Linked DNA regions of Homo sapiens: region 2 is linked to region 1. The links are contacts of gene promoters, found by promoter capture Hi-C in blood cells and fetal thymus (Javierre and others, 2016). All regions are on one chromosome and are shown on one strand. The core of a region is centred on a gene start or on the middle of the fragment in contact, and the rest is flanking DNA. Distances in the headings are between cores, read along the strand shown.

Region 1 (4,791 bases), core at 799-3,298:
GCCACCATCCCCATTTTAAATTCCTAATTACCATTCTCTTCTACTCTACCTCACACCAGCAATGCTGAAAATAGGAAAAGTGAAAAGCTGGGCTAGGCCACCAGGATAGTTTTCTTTTATTATTATTATTATTATTATTATTATTATTATTTTTTGAGACAGAGTCTCGCTCTGTCACCCAGGCCGGAGTGCTGTGGTGCGATCTCGGCTCACTGCAAGCTCCGCCTCCCGGGTTCACGCCATTCTCCTGCCTCAGCCTCCCGAGTAGCTGGGACTACAGGCACCCACCATCACGCCCGGCTAATTTTTTTGTATTTTTAGTAGAGATGGGGTTTCATCGTGTTAACCAGGATGGTCTCAATCTCCTGACCTCGTGATCCGCCCGCCTCGGCCTCCCAAAGTGCTGGGATTACAGGCATGAGCCACCGCGCCCGGCTCATTATTATTTTTTTGAGATGGAGTCTCACTCTGTCACCCAGGCTGGAGTGCAGTGGCGCGATCTCAGCTCACTGCAACCTCCACCTCCCAGGTTCAAGCGATTCTCCTGCCTCAGCCTGCCAAGTAGCTGGGACTACAGGTACATGCCACCATGCCCAGCTAATTTTTGTATTTTTAGTAGAGACGGGGTTTCGCTATGTTTGCCAGGCTGGTCTTGAACTCCTGACCTCAGGTGATCCACCTGCCTAGGCCTCCCAAAGTGCTGGGATTACAGGCGTGAGCCACAGCACCTGGCCTAGGATAGTTTTCTTTAAAGCCACTGTGTTGTAAAAGGTCAATTCTCACCTCGTTGCTGGCTGCGACTAACTTGTTCGTTTTCCCCTGTGCTTCGGGAATATGTTACCTCTGTAAGATAATAAACAACAAATAGTGTGCTTAGCCTTTATTCATCAGACCCCTGCCCTCCCACCACACAAAACCAGGACGCAAAATTCAAATCATTGAGCATCTGCTGCTGCACAGTTAAAGGCCCCATCTGGTTTTCTATGTCTACAAGAGGTTCCGAATACACAGAGACTGGGAAAGGTTAGGACTGCATTAAAGCAGCTCCAAGTGTTCCAAATTTCCAGTCATCCTTCCAGTACATTCCATACAGGCAATTTTCCTAGCAGCAGATTTTGTTGTTGTTTGTTTAAGGAGTTTCCCTCTATAGTCCAGGCTGGAGCACAGTGGTGCGATCACAGCTCACGGCAGCCTTCAACTTCCAGGCTCAAGCAATCCTCCTACCTCAGATTCCTGGGTAGCTGGGATTACAGGTGTATGCCACCATACCTGGCTAATTAAAAAAAAATTTTTTTAGGCACTTGTCTCGTTACGTTACCAAGGCTGGTCTCGAGATCCTGGGCTCAAGCAATCCTCTCGGCTCTGCCTCCCAAAGCACTGGGATTACAGGCGTAAGCCACCCCACCCAGACAATGGCTGCAGATTTTGAGGGCTGCACTGGTCAGAAACTTGGAAAGCAAAGAAAAGTGATGTTTTGCCAGTTTGTGCTTAAAACTATTTCAGGGTAATAATACCTGCTATAATCGTATCGGCAATCCTTCCACAATGACCAGACATGGCAAGATGAGTGGAACTTTTGTTTCTGTCTCACTTATTCAATATTTATTACACGCACCATCTATGCCCGATACTAAGTGCTGGGAAAACACAGATGAATGGCAGCCCCCATCTCCTTCAGCTCCCTCGCTCACTTTAGGTCATTTTCTCTCAAATTAAGTGTGTGCGTTACAGTTAGGAGTATGGGGGGAGCGGGGAGGCAAAAGGAATCTGATGTTAATCCCTCCACCGCCCCAGGCTGTCCCCAGGGCCACAAGTACCTCGGAGATTGCCCTCGTCGCTGAAGGTAGTGGTAAGGACCCCCTCGGTGACCACGCAGCCGCAGTCGGAGCACACCAGCTGGCTCTGCGAATAGTGCGAGTCTTCCACCAGCTCCGTGGAGCCGCAGTCCGGGCAGCGGCCTCTGCCTGGCATCTCACAACCGGCCCCAAAGCCGCGGAAGCCTTCAGAGACTCCTGGGTCTGCAACAGCAACCGTGAGGCAGCAAGAAGTAGGAGGGGACACTTCAAAGGGTTGCACCCCCGTCTTCCGGCCAGCGCGACGGAGGCATAGGCGGTTCCCTCCGCTGGGAGGCTGCGCGCCACTTCCGGTCTGTGCCTCCGCGGGCTCGGGTAGAAACGTGAGCTAGGAGAGGAGGTTCCTGGGCTGAACTGTAGCTGTCTGGTTTCCCTGCACTCTGTAGTTAGTTTTTGGGACCTAGACTGGGGTTGAATTTGGGAAAGTTTTTGCCTACATGGACACGTATAACAGACAGAAGATTGTTGTCACCCCTGAACAACCCTCCTTTTAAAGTCCTAAGGGAATCGCAGGTTGGTAATGAATGTTTAATTGGCCATAGAAGAAAGTATATTTTTTAAAGGGAGAGTAGTGGAGAGAGAGCGGGAGCAGGAAACTGTGTTCTGCTTTCCAGAGCTGCTTCCTAAAGCAGATTCCTTCCTCTCTTTACCTCCTGTTTTTCTCAACTGTAAAATGAGGAAGTTGAAAAAAAAATCCAGAGATGCAAACCCAAACGCTTTTGGAGGCCAGGCAGGAATGTCTAAAGGAGTTTGGAGTGAAAGAATATGGAGTGATGGAGACCTGGAGCGGCGCAAGCACGCAGATTCAGATGTTTTTTAAAAAACCTTGAGCTATCTGGGCGTGGTGGCTCACGCCTGTAATCCCAGCACTTTGGAAGGCCGAGGCAGGTGGATCACCTGAGCTCGGGAGTTTGAGACCAGCCTGGGCAACATGGTGAAATCCCGTCTCTACTAAAAATACACAAAAATTAGCTGGGCGTGGTGGTGCACGTCTCTAATCCCAGCTACTCAGGAGGCTGAGGCAGGAGAATCGCTTGAACCCAGGAGGCGCAGGAGGCGCAGTGAGCCAAGATCGCGCCACTGCACTCCAGCCTGGGTGGCAGAGCGAGACTCCATCTCAAACAAAATAAAACATACCTTTAAGAAGTGTCACTCCCTTCTTTTCCACACCCAGTTTTTACACGTGATATCCAAACCTAAAGACACCATCCCTTCCCTAAGAGACTGCTTTCTCAGAGTGTGAGAATCACTACTCCTTTTCAGAGACATCCCGTCCATTCCCATGGGGATCGCTCACATTGGAGGGCCAAGAGACACAATAATACCCAACGGTCCTTTCTCTTCAATTTGAATTACTTTAGTATCATAACAGAAGGGGGCTTCAGCACATTAATCGTGGGTGGGATCCGGCAGTCCAAGCCCCCCCGCCTTTTCTAGACCTCCCCACTAGCGTGAGATACAGGATGAGAGCTTATTTCTGGCTGTCTGACAGTTAAATATTAAGATACATTTGCACATGCGCACCCGCACACACACACCACTCAGAGACATCCATTAGTTTTAGTGTGGTTGACATTCTTATTTGGATGAAGAAAGTGTCCCTGAAAGCGACATAACTTGCACTGGGAACAGTTCCTTGCATGATCACACAGCAGAGCATCAGACTCCCCTCATCCCCAGTTGTGTGCAGATCTTGAACCTACCTTCACTTTTTTTTTAAGCGGGACTTTACAGAGCCCATCTACCTAGGACAGAAGCCTTGAAATCCTGCCTGACCCAACCTGATTGATTGTAAAGTGGAAAAGCAGTTTTATGATCCTGCAGCCAGCCACGGAAGGAGAAAGCTGGTTGTCTTTCCCAGTCACACATGATGTACTTACTGGGAGCCTAGGAGAGCCTGGTCCTCGGGCACACACAGGCTGGGAGGGGGCAGGGTCCAGGCCAGAAGATGGCGCCCTCTACTAAGATGTGTAAGTTTGGGGTTCTCCACTTTCTCAGGAAGAAGTCCATTTATTTGGGAAATGTATTTGCCTTGCTCCAGGAAATCTGGACAGACGTGGAAATCATCTTGGTGCCCTCTCCACTGCTCCCAGTTCTTCTAAGAGTTATCATTCCTGGTAGTGATTATCTTATTTTTTAATTTTATTTATTTATTTATTTTGAGAGGAGTCTCACTCTGTCGCCCAGGCTGAAGTGCAGTGGCACAGTCTCAGCTCACTGCAGCCTCCACTTCCCGGGTTCAAGCAATTCTTCTGCCTCAGCCTCCCAAGTAGCTAGGACCACACGCGCCCACCACCATGCCTGGCTAGTTTTTGTATTTTTAGTAGAGATGGGATTTCACCGTGTTGGCCAGGCTGGTCTCAAACTTCTGACCTCAGGTGATCTGCCCACCTCGGCCTCCCAAAGTGCTGGGATTACAGGCATGAGCCACCATGCCTGGCAGTGATTATCTTTTTAACAGATGCCCCGAGTGCCCAGGGTGGGCTTGGCCAGAGCAGAAAGCTAGTCATGGGGAGGCCATTGAACAGCAGCCCAGCTGTGGTCCAGATGTATAATGCTGACATTGAGGCCAGAGTTCTTTGTAGAGGGGAGAGTAGAGGAAGGCACTGAGGAAGAGGAGGATCTGGCACCTGAATGCAGTCCTCTTCCTCCCTCGATTGGCTGTGTACATTCTAGTTCGTTGTTTGACTTTCTCTTTGAATGGAAGTCTCTATGGGAACAAGCTGGCTTTCTCATCCTTGTGTCCCCAGGAGTACCTCCTAAAGTGAGGGCTGGCATTCAGTAAAGAGGAGTTCAACTCCCGTGAATTCCTGTCCTAGGTGGGCCTATCCAAAGCACCAAATGGGCCAGGCACGTGGCTCATGACTGTAACCCTAACACTTTGGGAGTCTGATGTGGGAAGACAGCTTGAGGCCAGGAGTTCGAGACTGTCCTGGGC
Region 2 (4,791 bases), core at 1,224-3,723, 90 kb after region 1:
GATGATGTAAACTATACGAGCATCCTTATGCCAAGCTCTGAGAAACTGGACGCCAAGCTGGAAGGCACCACTGTCACCAACAGTGTGTACACCCCCTACCTGCCAGCAAGACATAGACACAAATAGGCCAGGTGTGGTGGCTCACACCTGTAATTCCAGCACTTTGGGAGGCTGGGGTGGGTGGATCACTCGAGGTCATGGCCAACATGTTGAAACCCCGTATCTACTAAAAATACAAAAATTAGCCGGATGTGGTGTTGGGCATGTGTAATCCCCGCTACTCAAGAGGCTGAGGCAGGAGAATCACTTGAACCCGGAAGGCGGAAGTTGCAGTGAGCGGAGATCAGGCCACTGCACTCCAGTCTGGGTGACAGAGTGAGACTCCGTCTCAAAAAAATAATAAGTAAATAAACATTAAAAAATAAAAAGAAATAGACAGAAATAACACTCTAAAACAGTAATGGAGGCGAGACGCAGTAGCTCATGCCTGTAATCCCAGCACTTTGGGAGGACGAGGCAGGGAATCCCCTGAGGCCAGGAGTTTGAGACCAGCCTGGCCAACATGGTGAAACCCTGTCTCTACAAAAAATACAAAAATTAGCTGGGCGTGATGGCACATGCCTGTGATTCCAGCTACTCAGGAGGATGCAGCACCAGAATTGCTTGAACCTGGGAGGTGGAGGTTGCAGTGAGCTGAGATGGCACCACTGCACTCTAGCCTGGGTGACAGAGTGAGACTCTGTCTCAAAAAATATATATAATAGGTTAAAAAATAAAACAGTAATGGGAATACTAACACCACCTCCAATTCAGATCATTCCTGTCTTGAAAGAGCTTTCAAATCAGCAGTGTGAGCAGGTGGGAATACCACTGGACTGAGATTCCGATCCTGACTCGATGGCTAAGGACTTGTGGACTCTCTGAGCCTCAGGTATCTCTTTTATCAATACCAGGGGGCCCTCCGAGGTCCCCTTCGGGTTTAAGGTTGTGCAGACCCAGATCGCCACTCTCTGTGTCTAAATGAGCCAGGGGAGGGCCCACCTTCTCACCCTGTTCTCCACAATGGCTTGGCTGTGCTTTCCAAAGAGGAGTGCTAGAGAGGCCTGGATGAATGATTTCAGGCCCATGGTGGGCAAGTACTCATAATTCAGGGAGGGATCCTGTGAAATCTGTAGTCGAGTCTTCTGCACCACGAGAGAAACCCAGGGATGGCCTTCATTTGTCATGCAGACTGTGAGGAAAACCACAGAGGGAGCTCCAGATGCCTGGTTTGGGCCCCCAGGGCTGAGCTCTGCAGACAGCCTGCAAACAAATCTCTCCTGGACTCCATGGGGCTGTGGGAAGGTGCCTGTGAAAATACAACTTTCCCTTTTCTTTTCTCCTTGATGAAAAGAATATGCTGTTAGTGAATGTGTATTATTTTTGTCTTTTTAAAAAAGACAACTGAAACCTATGCCATTTTAAAGGTTAAAAATTATACAAGCCCAGGATTGGTGGCTCAGGCCTGTAATCCCAGCACTTCGGGAGGCTAAGGTGGGTGGATCACTTGAGTTCAGGAGTTCAAGATCAGCCTGGGCAACATGATGAAACCCTGTCTCTACAAAAAAATACAAAACAGCCAGACATGGTGACCAGCGCCTGTAGTCCCAGCTACTCAGGAGGCTGAGGCAAGAGGATGGTTTGAGCCCAGGAGGCAAAGGTGGCAGTGAGCTGAGATCTTGCCACTGCACTTCAGCCTGGGCAACAGAGTGAGGCCCTGTCTCAAGAAAAAAAAAAAAAAAATATATATATATATATATATATATATATATATATATATATATGCAAAATGAGAGTTATAGGTAGATGAAGCTAAATAAAGGTAACCCTGACTTTCACAGTGGTGAGCCCCAGTTGCATAGCAGAAAGCTCAATCTGGAGAACCATTCTTGGTTCAAGAACAGGAAGAGAAAGAGAAAGAGAGAGAGAGGAGGTAAGAATCTGAAGAAGTGTGGGATGGCCATGCAGGCCCCCAAGCATAGAGTTGTGGAAGAGGACATAGCTCTCACCAAATCCCTAGAAGCCCCCAGAGAAGGGCAGAGAGCATGGAATGACCTGGGACCTTATCTGCACTTTTCCCCACTGGGTAATTCTGTTAACAAGAAAAGATCTCTCCACCCACAGAAGCTTGGGCTGCACCCCTCCCCCTGCAGCAGGGAACACTGTCCTCCTAGAGGCAGTTACCATCACTTAAGTCTTATACTTCAGAACTGCTAGGCATCTACCTCTATAGGCTAAGAATATCTTGTTCGGGTAATCATCTTGTTTGTAGGTCTTTAACAAGCTGCCCTCTAGCTTGTGGGCGAGGGGCACATCCATGAACACTGAAAGGGTGGGCATAACTGAAACGAAACTGGAGCCAAGACTATGTGTCTCTGCTCCTGTGTTCCGCTTCTGCCCAGAAGTCTTCCTCCAAGGCTGGGCCGGGCAGTCCTGCCTCTTCCTGGAACCTTGGCAGCCCCAGTGCAGAGGCGCTGGACAACGGGTTGCCAGGGCAACAGAACCTCATGATCTTTGTGGTGGCGATCCACAGGGGCCACAGGAACATTCCAGGGTACTTGAGGAGAATCCCCTCAGACAGCGGGCAGGGCAGGATAACAATCTCCGGAATTCCCAAGCCCGTTTCCCTCACTCAATGCCTTCTCTTCTCTAGCCCCAGGTGGCTCAGTCCAAAGTAACAAGCCCACTCCTTAGATGACAGGGCAAGGATAATGGGAGATTACTTAACAGATACAATGTACATTGTTGGGGTTATGGATACCCTAAAAGCCCTGACTTCACCACTATGCGATGTATGCATCTAACAAAATTACACTTGTACTTCACACATTTATACAAATTAAAAAAAAAAAAAAGAAAGAAAGACATAGGGCAAGGCAGGCAGCCAATAAGCCAGATAGGGCTTCTCCTGCAGAAGCAAAAACCCCAGATCACACACCAATGCAAGTCGAGGCATTGATTTCCATTTTGCAAAGTGCCCCAGATTTCAAAAGGAATAAAAAGCAAACACTGTTTTCTTCCACAGTTGTTTTAATAAAGAATCCTATTATTAGAATATAATTGGCAACTCACTAAGCCAGTCCTATTTCTCTCAGTTATCTAGAGCCAAGACTTCTACATATGTTTGTTAAGTTTCTTTTTCTTTCTTTTTTTGGTTTTTTTTTTTTTTGAGATGGAGTCTCACTTTGTCGATAGTCTCGAACTCCTTGCCTCAGGTGATCTGCCTGCCTTGGCCTCCCAAACTGCTGGGATTACAGGCATGAGCCACCACACCTGGCCATTTGTTAAGTTTCAATGACAGCCAACTAGTAAGTATAGACAGCAGAGGCCAAGGGGAGAAAAGAGCCAGCCTCTATAGAGTCAGTCTGCATATTGCTTGCTTTCTTTTCCTTTTGATGTTTAATGACTCTCTCTTTTTTTTTTTTTTTTTTTTTGAGACAGAGTCTCGCTCTTGCTGCCCACATTGGAGTGCAGTGGTGTGATCTCGGCTCACTGCAACCTCTGCTTCCCAGGTTCAAGAGATTCTCCTGCCTCAGCCTCCCGAGTAGCTGGGATTACAGGCATGCGCCACCACACCCAACTAATTTTGTATTTTTAGTAGAGAGGGGGATTTCTCCATGTTGATCAGGCTGGTCTCAAACTCCAGACCTCAGGTGATCTGCCCACCTGGGCCTCCCAAAGTGCTGGGATTACAGGCGTGAGTCACTGCGCCCGGCTTTTTTTTGTATTTTTAGTAGAGACAGGGTTTCACCACGTTGGCCAGACTGGTCTCAAACTCCTGACCTCAAGTGATCTGCCTACCTCAGCCTCCCAAAGTGTTAGGATTACAGGCATGAGCCACCACACCCAGCCTGATGTTAAATAACTCTTTAAATGATTGTTGCAAACACTGTTGATGTCTCACCCAGAAGGCCTTCACCACCAATGTGCCCGGCCCCAGCTGCTGCTTCGCTGGTGGACAAGGCTTATATGCCTGTGTTCTCTGGAGAATTGTGCTTGGCTGGCAGGAGTCAGCTAGCCTAGAAACCACCTGGAGGTTTCACCCCCACTGACAGGGGTAGCCAATGACTGCCTGATTTAGGCATACAAAGGGTCAGCCACAGCCAGGCATGGTGGCTCACACCTGCAATCCTAGTGCTTTGGGAGACTGAGGCGGGAGGATCACTTGAGCCCAGGAGCTCAAGACCAGCCTGAGCAACATAGGGAGACCCCCCCCACCCACTCCACAAAAAATTTTAAAATTAGCTGGGCGTGGTGGTATTGCAGTGAGCTATGATCATGGCACTGCACTCCAGCCTGGTTGACAGAGTGAGATCCTGTCTTTAAAAAAAAAAAAAGGTCGGGCACGGTGGCTCACACCTGTAATCCCAGCACTTTGGAAGGCCAAGACAGGCAGATCACAAGGACAGGAGATTGAGACCATACTGGCTAATGGGGTGAAACCCCGTCTCTACTAAAAATACAAAAAAAAAATTAGCCTGGCTTGGTGGTGGGCGCATGTAGGGAGGAGGCTGAGACAGGAGAATTGCTTGAACACGGGAGGCAGAGGGCACAGTGAGCCGAGATCTCTCCACTGCACTCTAGCCTGGGTGACAGAGCGAGACTGTCTCAAAAAAAAAAAAAAAGGAAAAGAAAAAGAAAAAAGGCCAGCCCCCTTGTCTCGGTTCACCTCTGTGGCTCAATCTACACTTCAGGGCCCATTCCCCAACCAGGCGAAGCCTAGACTTGACCTGAGGCCACATCCTTGCTTGG

What was found. Contacts are between HindIII fragments. The CHiCAGO score rates a contact against its expected background, and 5 or more counts as called.
Region 2: the fragment with the promoter of GOT1L1 here is called in contact with the fragment with the promoter of BRF2 in region 1 in 17 of 17 cell types (erythroblasts, M1 macrophages, megakaryocytes and 14 more); the score reaches 18.3 in erythroblasts.

The regions. Positions count from the first base shown.
Region 1 is chr8:37,847,813-37,852,603 of GRCh38, forward strand. It overlaps BRF2 (BRF2 general transcription factor IIIB subunit), which reads right to left and starts at 2,049. Exons shown (of 4, transcript NM_018310.4): 1 at 1,818-2,049; 2 at 784-843. The coding sequence starts at 1,971. RefSeq lists enhancers at 1,725-1,864, 1,905-2,254. The HindIII fragment of the contact is 8,285 bases long and covers 1-4,791 here.
Region 2 is chr8:37,937,651-37,942,441 of GRCh38, forward strand. It overlaps GOT1L1 (glutamic-oxaloacetic transaminase 1 like 1), which reads right to left and starts at 2,474. Exons shown (of 9, transcript NM_152413.3): 1 at 2,265-2,474; 2 at 1,050-1,231; 3 at 1-99. The coding sequence starts at 2,379. RefSeq lists an enhancer at 1,980-2,496. The HindIII fragment of the contact is 5,963 bases long and covers 2,165-4,791 here.